Linked DNA regions of Homo sapiens: region 1 is linked to region 2. Evidence: promoter capture Hi-C in 16 types of primary human blood cells and fetal thymus (Javierre and others, 2016). All regions are on one chromosome and are shown on one strand. Each heading gives the region's core, a stretch centred on a gene start or on the middle of the fragment in contact. The rest is flanking DNA. Distances are from core to core; before and after follow the strand shown.

Region 1 (6,635 bases), core at 2,924-5,423, 610 kb before region 2:
GCCTCACTTTAGGCTCTTCAACAGTCACCTGACAACTGCTTAATTATGGTGCAACCTTAATTTATATGACTTTGCTCATATATCCCCTGTACTTGTATGTCATTGTTTTTTGATTATTCAGTGATAAATCAGGTATCCTGTATTGAGAGAGTTCCTTGTATGGAACATAAAGGTTTTTTATCTTTGGAAAAAGTTGAAGCGGCCAGGCATGATGGCTCATGCCTGTAATCCCAGCACTTTGGGAGGCCAAGGCGCACGGATCACGAGGTCAAGAGATCAAGACCATCCTGGCCAACATGGTGAAACCCCGTCTCTACTAAAAATACAAAAAAACTAGCTGGGAATGGTGGCATGTGCCTGTAGTACCAGCTACTCAGGAGGCTGAGGCAGGAGAATCACTTGAACCTGGGAGGCGGAGGTTGCATTGGGCTGCGAACATGCCATCGCACTCCAGCCTGGGTGATGGAGCGATACTCCGTCTCAAAGTAGAAGCAAGAGTAAGAGTTTAAGGTTCGTTAGATGATTTTGGTTTTCCTGGAAATTATGGTAAGGCTTACCTCACTGGATTGTTTTTGAGATCCAGTAAGTTATATAAAAACTTCTCACAAGTCCTAAATGAATATGAATTTTTTGGAGAGGATGTTCAAATATATATTAGGAATCAATAGTAACAGTTATGGGTAGCTAGGTCTAGCTAGAAAAGTATTTGAGGGATATATGTGAGTGAGAAAAAAACCTCCTCTGCCTGTCTTGTAATAGTACAGATTGTGCCATCCCCATAAAAAGCCTTCAGCAGGCTGGCTGTAAGTGCGTAAGTTTATTGTAAGTGGTAGAGGGTGTATAACTGCTTAGTTTCTGTGTTAGGGTTCTCTAGACAAGCAGATCAAGAGGATGCACATAGAAAAAATTAAAATTGTCATCTGATTCTGGAGGCTTGGGTTGAAAATATGGGTATGCCCGCGGGCTGGAGACTCGGCAAAGGCAGTCGCTGTCAGAATTCCTCCTTGCGGGAGGACCTCCTTGTGGTCAGTCTTTGTTCATTAAGATCTTCAACGAATTCAAGAAGCTTAGCCACATAAGGAGGATCAGCTTTACTCCAAGTCCACTGACTTAAATGGTAAACTCATGATAATTCAAGAAACACCTTCACAGAAATATCTAGAGGATTGTTGATCCAAATATTTGAGCACTGTGTCCTTGCCAAGTTGACACAAAATTAACCATAACAGTAGTTCAGTTTTCTATTTCCCTAAACTGGTTTTTAAAATTCAAGCCAATATTTAAAACCAGGAGGTCTCCATAAAAATCCAGATTCTCGGGGAAAAAAAAAAAAATTACACTGGATGAACCCACAAATGCCCATGTGAAACTAATCAGGACCAAGTAAAAAGTTTGTACCTTTTGCAGATGCTTCCCTAACTCACTAGAATACTGGAATAGGAATTTTGGTTAGAATCCAGGATTTGTTTTAAAGAGAAGTCACTATCACTGTTTCCGTAATTAAGTTATGGCCACAATGAAGGAAGTAATTCAAAATGTCTTAGGTTTTGCTGCAGAGACCATAGAGGTTAAGAATGTGGGCTCAGAACTAAGTCTTGGCTGGATTCAAAGCCAGGGTTGATAAATTCCTCGTCTTCGACAATCTGTACCTCCCTTTTATCTAATTTGGTGTAGTTGTGAAGATTAAAAATGAAAATAGAGGCCCAGCGCAGTGGCTCACACCTGTAATCCCAGCACTCAGAGGCCGAGGTGGGTGAATCACGAGGTCAGAAGTTCGAGACCAGCCTGGCCAACATGGTGAAACCCCATTTCTACTAAAAATACAAAAAAATAGTTGGGTGTAGTGGTGGGCGCCTACAATCCCAGCTACTTAGGAGGCCGAGACAGGAGAATTGCTTGAACCCAGGAGGCAGAGGTTGCAGTGACCCGAGGTCACACCACTGCACTCCAGCCTGGCAGACAGAGCAAGACTGTCTCAAAAAAGAAAACAGAAAAAAAAAAAAAGAAAATACACCTAAATTGAGGCAAATTTTCTTAAGCTTTTAGTGTAGAGTGCTTAATTGAAACAAGCGAGATGGGGGAAGTATAATGGGCATTGTGTAAGTCGTTAAAGTTGATCCCAGAGCAATTCTGCAATAGTTAATAGATTGGTCTGTGCTGTAGACACTGTGTCTTCAAAAGTGATGCCAGAATGATAGTGCTAAAATGCAAGTCATCATTTTACTCACTGTAAGACACCTCACCATGACAATGGTCACTTCCCTATAGTTTCAGCCTCATCCCAGCCATATCACACAGTTTTATGTACCACCTCCAAGTCTTAATTTAGCTCAGGTGCCACCTTTTCTATAAAGCCTTCCCTTTTTATTTTATTTTTTTAAGAGATAGGGTCTCGATTTGTCACCCAGGCTGGAGTACAGTGGCACAATCATAGCTGGCTGCCACCCTCCAGGGGATCCTCCTGCCTCAGCATCTGGAGTAGTTGTGGCTACAGGGGCTTGTCACCATCCCTGGCTAGTACTTTTTATTTTTTGAGGAGACTGAGTCTCACTGTATTGCCCAGGCTGGTCTCATACTCCTGGCCGCAATTACTCCTCCTTTGAGAGATTATAGGCATGTGCCACCAAACCCAGTCCCTTCCTGATTTAACACACTCCACATAAATCTCTAACACCCTGTAAACAGCCTTATAATTCAGCAGGTACTGTAATTACTGATTTCCTTATCTACCTTTCATACCAGCTTGTGATCTTTCTGAGCCCAGAGAGCCTTCTTTATTCATGTATCCTGCATCTATAATTTAGCTGGTGATCCATTAACACTCTATTCTATTAATCCTTTCAATAATCTGAAGCCAAGAATAAAAATTACCTAAAAACAAATTCTAGGCCTCTTACGCACTAAATGTATGTTTCAATGCTTTATGAATAAAAATGAATTTTTCCTGGATAGTTGGAAATTGGTTCTCCCACCAAACATAAATGTATTGAAATAATCCAGTTGAAAAAAAATGAGTTTAAATTTGCACCAAAATGTAACTCAACTATGTCACCACTGTTTAGTCTATCTGATATCTCTTTTTCTTTGCAGACAAACCCTTAATGAAGGAAAGTGTGTTGATATACATTCCAGGAAAGCTCTTCATCTTATATCAAGCCAGCATTTTAAGAAGCACTGGCTTAAAGAACTGGGGAATTTTTTATTTTTTTTAATCTTGTGTAACAAAAGATGGAGCTCAGGAATTTTAGGGCCCTCCAAGTTCCTCAGCCTGTTTTTTCTAAACCATTTCTTTCATTCTCATAAGATGGCTGCTACAGTTCCAGTTATCCCATACAGACTTGACAATACCCAGCAAGAAAAATTACTGTCTTTGTTATTTTTCAAAGTGAAGAAAGCTTTCCTTCAGACTATCCCTCATTAGTCACTGTCCAGAAAAGTGATAAATTCACTTCTGAATATAACACGGGCAAGGGAATAGCATGACAATGATTAAATTTGATCAATTAGCATTTTCTCACAAGTCTTACGTGGGCAGAGGAGATACTGAAACAAGTCAGGATTCTACCAGAAAGGGAAGAGAAAGTGGCTATTGGGTATGCAAAAGACACTGCCTGCTGCAATTATTCTATATACTATACTAAAAAGATGGACTGGAATGCCATAAAATGTAATAAGCCTTCATTTTAGTGTTTCCAATAAATAAAGATCACAGCATAGGTCTTTAGAGTAAGCTATATAGAATAGAGCAGAAATACCGTTTATGCTTTTTCTTTCTGTCTCCTTTCAATAGAAAATAATAATATGAGCTTTTATATGATTTATACTCTGCCTACATCAAAACCTTTTTAAAAACTTCATCTATTATCAAATGGTGTTTTGTTATCATAGCTATTGTAACGTTATAACCCAGAGGGAAGATAGCCACTTTCCATATATCTTAATACAGTGATGATTTTTTACTGAGTATATAATTCAAAAAATGTATAGTTGATTTGTGTGGTACCCACATTTCCTTCCTTAACCTGGTATAGTAATCATTAAGGCTTTTCATAAATATGACAGCTCTATTTCTGTACACATAGGATCAAAATCTAACCCCTTTGCTTTGACAATAAAAAACTGAGAAGTTACATGCATTACCTCTACATGAAAGCTCTAAAAGGCAGTATACCCTTCACCAACTTCCCTTCTTCCTGCTACAGGGATATAGCCTCCATCAGCCTAGGTTCCTGAAAGACTCTGTAAGTGTAGCCCCATGTCAGATGTATAGAGTGAGCAAGAAATTTTCATTGTTATAAGCATTTGGGGTTTGGGGATCATTAGTTACTGCAGTAAAAGTTGTCCTACCTTCAGAATACTTAAGCACTTCATATGTCCTTCAAAAGTATCACTTATCTACTTCTCTGATTCTTCAGTCAAAGAATTGTGTCAACTAGATGATCTTTTAAGGACTCTTCCCAATTAAAGTGAATTGTATCTACAATTACAAATGTGGGTACCACACAAAAGCCTGACTCAGAGGTGGTAAGATCTCTTTTCAGCACTTTTCATGTGTGGACAGGGGCCAGAATGATGGAGATAAGTCATCTTGGGCTTTCAAAGTGGTTTTCAGATGCAGCTCTGAGCAACTACCTACTAGCCATTTCCACCTTATCTCTCATTTTCATGGACTCTATTTACCCATTGTATACTTTTGTAAAAATTGGAAAGTGAGTCTCTTCTTCCAGAGGGACACAGCATCATGCCAGAGCCCTCGTGCTTTCCTGTTCAGTACCTCTGTATCACTGTAAAACAGTACAGCTTTGTGTTACATTCCTGTACAGTCATCTCAACTTTGAATTTTGCAGATTATTCCTACTAAAATTCACTCCTCCCCCCAAATTTTCCCAGCTCTAACAAAAGGTGGATAGCATAATTATTATGGGTTGAATAGGGGTCTGTATTTTTTAGAATAAGCTTTGTGTGTTTTCTTTGCTGGATTCCAAAACATAGCACTATGCTTAGTAAATATTAAGCTTTCAACAAATATATTTAGATAGATGAAGGCATGGAAGAATACTAATCAGATTTAATGGCATCTTCGAGTTTAAAAGCATTAGAAACCAGTCTAGGAAGTTCTCTACTTGATGCATCCCTCTCTAAGGAGGACCAGGAGGTGATTGTTAAGTACCCATATATTGATAAATTTATCAGGGTTATCTTAACCCTAATTAGCTTAGTATTATCAAAAAAATTTCCCATTCATTATGTTGTGAGAGGGATTTTATACCATCTATGAAACTGCCTAGTGTGAAATCTTTATTCACGCTCCAGCCTTCATACTAGCTACCAAAACAATTGTTTAAAAGTGATTGTTTATTTTCCCCAGACAGAATATATACTAAGTTGAACCATATGAAATTACTGAATTTTACTGTTTTTTTAACCCATCAGATGGTAATTTCTGATGGTTCAGTGGTCATAGTTTCCCTTTTCAGTTACTGGACCACCCGTAGAGTTCCTTTCACCCATATATATATATATACACCTGTTTTGGGAAATTGTGGATTTTACCAACACCAAAAATTGACTAATTGGGTTGTATACACTCAGTATAGCAGAACTAATTCTGCTTAATCTTGGTACCATTATTTCATTACCAATTATACAACAGATGGTCTGAAATTCCCAAATGTTGCCTTTTACTAAGAGTCTGCGCTTTGGGGAAATAGTTCTGAATTACACAGCTCTGAAATCCATTACTTTTGGATGCAGAGTACAATGAACTTACAGCAAGACTATGGCTTGCAATGTTTTTCATTGTGGGATTTAATGTAAATTATCTGGATTTTAGAAAAGGAATTCTAAGTATTTCCATGTTTTCATAGGAAAAAAATGGACTTATTTTAAATCTAAATCTCCCTTCACATCCTCCAAAAAAAATCATGCTGATTGTCAGGAAAAGAAAATTCACTCATAACCTATACCTTTAATGTAGCTAGGAAATAGATTTTAAATTACCTACCAATAGGAAAATAAACACTTGAGACAAGCAAAATTGTATCTAGAGCCTACACCCAATGGGAGACAAGCAGAGATGAGGGCAAGATGGGAATATAGATGAGGGATGTAGGGTAGGGAGAATGGGGATGGTAAAATACAGATAAAATTGCTCAAACCAAGTGCCACTCAGAGCAAGAAAATACTGAGAGTTAGTTTGAGCTCTTGTAGGTGACTGATGGGGAATTGAAAGACAGGAACTTGAAAATCAATGGAGCCCAAGGCAAGAGTTTCAGAATGGCACCACTTCCAAGTAAATAGAAGTGTCAAGAAGATTGCGCCCTTGGTGCCTTAGAGGTAAAAGAAGAAAAAGGAAGCAAAAGGGGGAAATGAATATTCCTGTTAAAACAAAAAGAGGGTCACAAAATCAGAAGACACCAAGTTTTTCCCAACCAAACAAGTACATTGGTTAAAGAAACTATAATATTTCACCATATCAAGTGAAATACCCTTGAACAAAAAAACCTAGTTATCTTCCTCAAATTCTCAAAGGTTAATAATAATTATATTAGCACATAAAAAATCAAAGCAAAAATATGACAGATGACAGTCACATAAAGTTATTATAAGAATAAAGTAGAAATTTAGAAGCCTAA
Region 2 (6,233 bases), core at 1,322-3,821:
TTCCTATCAAAATACCAATAACATTCTTCACAAAAATAGAAAAAAAACCCTAAAATCCAAACAGCCAAAGCAATCCTAAGCAAAAACAAAAACAAACAAACAAACAAAAACAAAGCTGGCAGCATCACACTACCTGACTTCAAAATATACGACAAAGCTATGGTAACTACATGGCATGATATTGCATAAAAATAGACGCATAGACATAGAGAACCTAGAAATCACATACTTATAAAATTGTGCTTCTGCTCTTTAAGAAGAAATGTGGATAGATATGTTATGGGTAACCAATAGTGACTGCCACAGTGGTTGTATAAATTCCTGCTCCTGTAGAAGTGTGTGTGTTTGTGTTTGTATGTGTTTTACTTGCTAATATAAGGTTTTGTTTTTCAGTCATTTTGGAAGTTTGTTGTATGTTATAGGTAAACTCTGGTTCACATTCACATTTTCATGATAAATGGTTAAGCATTTTTTCCATATATTTATGGCCATCTGAGTCTCCTCTTCTGTGAACTATGTTTATGTTTTTGTTCTCTTTTGATATTTCTTATCTACCTGAGGAGCTCTTTATAGTCTAGATATGAATTATTTTGTAAGATGTATGCATCACAGATATTTTCTCCCAGTCTGTGTGCTATGGACTGAATGTTTGTGTCCCCAAAAAACTCCTATGTTGAAATCCAATCCTCCCACCCCCATCCTGCCTTCCAAAGTGATAGTATTTGGATCTGAGGCCATTGGAAAGTGATTATATCATGAGGGTGAATCCCTCATAAATAGGATTAGTGCTCTTGTAAAAAGTACTCCAGAGAGCCATCTTGTTTTTCTGCCATGTGAGGACATAGTGAGAAGATGGTGGTCTATAAACTAGAAAGTGGGCTCTCTTTGACTGGGACTGCTCAGCCTCCAGAAACTATGAGAAATAAATGTTGTTTAAGCCACTCAGTCTATGGTATTTTTTTATACAGCCAGAATGGACTAAGACACTGTAACTTATCTCTTAATTGTATTTTGGTGTCTTTTACGGAACACATGTTTTATTTAATGTTATAAAAAAAATGCATTTTGTCGTTTATGCCATTGCATCTAGCTTAAGAAAGCTTTCCTTACTGGAAGTCATAAATTCTCCTATCTTTTTCTAAAAGTCTTAAAGTTTTGCTCTTTGTATTTAAGTTTCTTTCATCTGAAGTATATTCCATGTAAATAGAGTGAGGCAGAGATCTTTCTGACTTTTTCCCATGTGACTAACCAATTATCCCGGCATTATTTGTTATTTTTTTATTTTACTCCTGAATTTTAATGTCACACTTGTCATACACCAAGTTATCAAATATGTGAATCTGTTCTGAGTTTTGTTTTGTTGGTCTATTAATTTTATTTCTGACACAATAATACAGTTGTATAATTACAACATTAGAATATCAATATCTGGTAAAGTAATATCAGTGAAACTGATTTATGAATTGCATGTAAAAATTTTAAGGCCACCATGTCAATGTAATTAGCACTGGCCTACAGATAACCTATTGATTTGACCACTTTGCTCTTGTATGTAGAAACTTTGCTTAACTCTCCTATTCCAGTTCTTCAGCTGTACAATTATTGGATTTTCTATAAAAAAAAATATTCAAATAATCAATATTTGATCTTCCCTAATCCATATAACTGGTTATTTCTTTCTTATTTCATTGGTTAGGAACTCCAGAGCAATGATGATTATTGGTGGAGATAATAAGTATTAATGCTTGTTCCTAATGTTAATGGGAATTTTATAACTCTCATACATTATTTCTAGGATAAATCATATTTGATCATAATGCATTTTTTAAAATGCTTGATTCAATTTGTCAACATCTTATGATACTTGCATGTACTCATAAGGAAGATTAACCTATAATTTTTCTTTCTCTTATTTTTCTAGTTCAGCTAACTAGAATATATTAACTTCATGAGAGAAACTACAGAATTTTCCTCTTTTTCTGTATTTTGTAGCATTTTGTGCTAAAGAGATTTTTCTGTGCTTTGAATGTTTGTTGGTAATCCCTGTGTAAAATTTTCTAGACTTACTGTTATTTATTTTGGGTAGGTTTTTGCTTACTAATTCAATTTTTCCAAAGGCTTTCTCCTCAGACATAGATTTACTCTTGAGTCAATTTTGGTAATTTAAATTTTTAGTGATGCCCACCTGCAAAGGGCCAGGTCTGGCATACAGTTTGAAATTTGCTGCCAGAGTCCCATTTTGCAATCCCGAACTTCTGGTGGAGACTGGGGTGTCCATGGCCCACTACCCAGTGGCGAGTAAACTCTTTGCTCCCAGACTGTTGCAAGAAGCTTAAAGGATGGCCTCCAGATCTGGAACAATTATGTTCTCATATTAATAAAAAGATTAACAATATTTTTAAAAATCTGTCATTGAGAAACTGGCCAAGAACCTACCTTGAAGAATATCTTAATAGGAGATGAGATCACTGTAAGAAATGAACTTCTAAATAAATTTGAATAGGAAATTCAGTATTAAGAACAAACCAACAATTCACTCAAGGAACTCTGTAAATCTCTTGAAGAATATTATAAAATGTGGAATATCTCAAAGAAAACTTTCCTTCCCATGTGCCTCAAATAACAGGTCTCAAACTCCTAGCCTCAATCAGTCCTCCCACCTCAGCCTCCCAAAGTGCTGGGATTACAGGTGTGAGCCACTGTCCCCAGCCATAATTTATTTATATTTTATTTCTTTAGCTTTTTCATCTTCTATCCTGTTTCATATAAAATTCAAACTTTTTTGGATAAATTTTTTAATCAAATGCTTCCGTTTAAGTTAGTTTTAGCATTTATTTTTATAAAATTTTAGCATGTAATTTTAAAATAATTTTTTATATTTTAAGATCATACCTGTCCATGTGACTCCAATTCAGCTGTAAAAGATCTGAGAAATATTTGATCTGTTGTCCAGGAAGAAAAGGAGAGGAGGAACATTCTTCTATCATTTCACTCTTACCTGTATATGAAGAATATACTTACCTCCCCCGAAGGAGGACAATCTGAAGTCCCTTCTAGTTAGTGCATTCAGCTCAAAGCCCAAGACATTCAAGAAATGTGTCATCTTCTCCAATACGTGAATGTTTGAATTCTCCTGAAATAAAATCCCATGAACTGAAGAAATATCCTGTCTTTACCACCACTCCCATATACACCTACATGTGAGGGTGCATGCATGCACATGAACACACACACATCTAATATACAAAATGAATCAAGGACAGAAGTAGCTATAATAGGAATCTGATTAGTAAGGGTAGGAATGGAAGGCAAGCAACAGTAACCAGTGCATATAGATCTTAAACAACAGATCGCCAAACACACTGCAGAATGATAAGAGGGTCTGAAATGTAATACATCAAGTGTTAATGTGCCAGACCTAGAAGTGGCAAATGTCACTTGGACATATTCCACTGGCTAAAACTCAGTTACATAGGCCCAGTAAAATGATAAAAAGCCTATGTAAGTTTTGGTTGTATGCCAAAAAAGAAGAGGACAAAATGGATATTGATGTGCACTAACAGTCTGTGTCATCATGGTGACATGATCCTTCTATCATGAAGTAATCAACCTCTTTAGAGAAAAATCATTATTAGACTTAAAGTTGTTTTCTAATATCAATATTACTGTCAGATCTATTTTGGTCCGGTTCCTGGTGTACAGTTTTTCAACCTATGACAGTAAGTTCTCAACGTTGTTGATAGGGTCTTGGAAACTTCAACTTCAAGTGAGATGCCATGTAACAAAACCAGTTTTACTATAGGCTAATTAATATAAACAAGAATTAGTTCCTATGGCATATTTGTATCACAAAAACATCAACAAATTTCTAAGTGAAGACTTGAAACACTTCTAATGTTGAATATTGATATAAATGTAAGCTATACATACATTTAAGAAAAATCAACAAAAATAAGTAAGCAATTTGTCCAATTTTTGGTGAATCAGTGAGTGACAGCCGTCATCCTGGTGGTAGGTTAAATCAAGAAATAAATGTTTGTAAAGTGAAAATTGTCAGGAGTACCTCCTACCAACACACAGTTCAAAAACAAACAATATTCAATAAGGCAGACTCTCTAAGCACTTTCATACAACATTTCTTATTATTTTGCATTTGTATGATTATCAAATACTTTATATTTTATCTTATAATAATTTGTATTCATTTATTCTTTCATTTTCCAACCCACTTACTCCAGTTCAGGTTACAGGAGGCCAAAGCCCATTCAGCAGTTCAGGATACAAGGTGGGAAGCAACCCTGGCCATGACACCATCCCAACACAGGGCACACTCATACATATACCCACACTCACCTTGACTGAGATCGCTGACACATGCCCACCCACCTGAAATACACATCTTCAGGATGTGGGAAGAAACTGGAGTACCTGGAGAAAATCCACACAGACATGGGGAAAAGGTGCAAATTTCACAAAGACATTAGCCTCAACCATGAATTAATTTTTTTTCCCATCAACATTATAACAAAGTAACATTATCTGAGCACCTGATATAATTTCAGTCTTTTGAGATTATTACTATTATGAGACAAAATCTCACTTTGTAGCCCTGGGTAGAATGTAGTGGTGCAACCTCGGCTCACCGCAACTTTCATCTCTGGGTTCAAGTGATTCTCATGCCTCAGCCTCCAGAGTAGCTGGGATTACAGGTGTGTGCCACCATGCTTGGCCAATTTTTGTATTTTTAGTAGAGATGGGGTCTTACCATGTTAGCCAGGCTGATCTCGAACTATTGAGCTCAAGCTATTCACCCGCTTCAGCCTCCCAAACTGCTGCGACTACAGGCAAGAGCCACTGCGCCCAGCCTCTTGAGATTATTATATTTTGGGTGTGATTCTTTAAAAAAGCATATAGCCTAAACTTAGTTTTTTTAATCCAATCTGGGAATCTCTGTATTTTTCAGGTGAATTTAATCCATTTTCAGTTTTACAAGTTTGATACTAGAAAAGAGTTATTTTCAAAGAGCAAAACTATCATTCAAGATGTATTGTGAAATAAACATTTCTCAGAATAAGACAGAATGTACCACTTGCAGACCCTCTTTAAAATAACTGCTGAAGTATGCAGAATGCAAAAAGCAATGTCTGTAAAAAATAATACTTGGTGAACATGTTGATAAATCTTATTAAATACCGTGAAAAAAGATGAATTTGGGGGTTCTTAATGACAACTTGAAATATGGTACAATTAAAGATAGGAGTGGGATGTTAAACTTAAAATATTTCAGGGTACTTGAGTTTGAAACGAACTAAATAGAAATATTGATGGGAGATGTGTGCTACAGAGACAGACTTAGCAACTATCAATAAAAGAGAAGAAAATCACAGAAATGTTTTTGGATGAAGTGCTTTCCCCAGCAGGGAAGTGAATCTAACTAATCCTAGGTAATGTAATGAAGTAGGCAAATGACTCTTCTACAGGCTCTTGCCTGTAATCCCAGCACTTTGGGAAGCTGAAGAGGGTGAAAAGAACCAAAATGTACAATGTCTCAAACACAATAAAAGTTTGTTTTTCTTACACATGAACAGACCAACATAACTCTAAGTTAGTGGGTGAAGCTGGAGGTGATTCTGCTCCACACAATCATTTGGGGACCCAATCTGAAGGAGGTTTTATCTACCACAGATAACTTCCAGGGTCACTCTAAACAAAAACATTCAGCCAATGAAAAGGAGAAGAGCATGTCTGAACATGTTGTGCCTTTTCTCAGTGAATAATGTCAAGGGGCACATGATATCAATGTGTCTCAAGGGTAACATAATCAGTACTGAGATGTATCAATCATGTGTCTTCTACTATGACACACTGAGAAAGACAGAAAGACTGCTGTCCTAGTCTTGCAAAAAATGCCTAAACCGAATGTGATTATGAGGAAACATCAAACACATACTGAGGGACATTCTTCAAAATACCTGACCATCTGCTGTCAGTGAGTACAAGAAAAAACAAAAACGAACCTGACCAGTTATCTTTAAAAGTATCAAAGTTATGGAAGACAGGGAACTGAAAGTCAAGGAAAGACTGAGGAACTCTTACAGATTGGAAGAGACCAAGGAGACACGACACCTAAATGCAATGTGTGGATCAGATAAAAACATTAGGGAAATAAATAATGAAATTTGAATGAGATCTATAAATTAGTTAATATTTTCTCAATATTTCCTGCTTGATAC

The links. The method cuts DNA at HindIII sites, captures the fragments that hold promoters and counts their contacts. A CHiCAGO score of 5 or more calls a contact.
Region 1: a contact is called between a fragment that was not itself captured here and the fragment with the promoter of LINC01949 in region 2, in 1 of 17 cell types (monocytes). The highest score is 5.2, in monocytes.

Annotation. Positions count from the first base shown.
Region 1 is chr5:86,621,796-86,628,430 of GRCh38, forward strand. No RefSeq gene overlaps it. Among named protein-coding and RNA genes, the nearest start is that of SNORD138, 4.6 kb to the left of the region's middle. The HindIII fragment of the contact is 1,561 bases long and covers 3,394-4,954 here.
Region 2 is chr5:87,236,630-87,242,862 of GRCh38, forward strand. It overlaps LINC01949 (long intergenic non-protein coding RNA 1949), which reads right to left and starts at 2,572. Exons shown (of 3, transcript NR_130914.1): 1 at 2,437-2,572; 2 at 2,186-2,352. All of the region lies in intron 2 of LOC101929380 (a long non-coding RNA gene), which reads left to right. The HindIII fragment of the contact is 4,009 bases long and covers 2,330-6,233 here.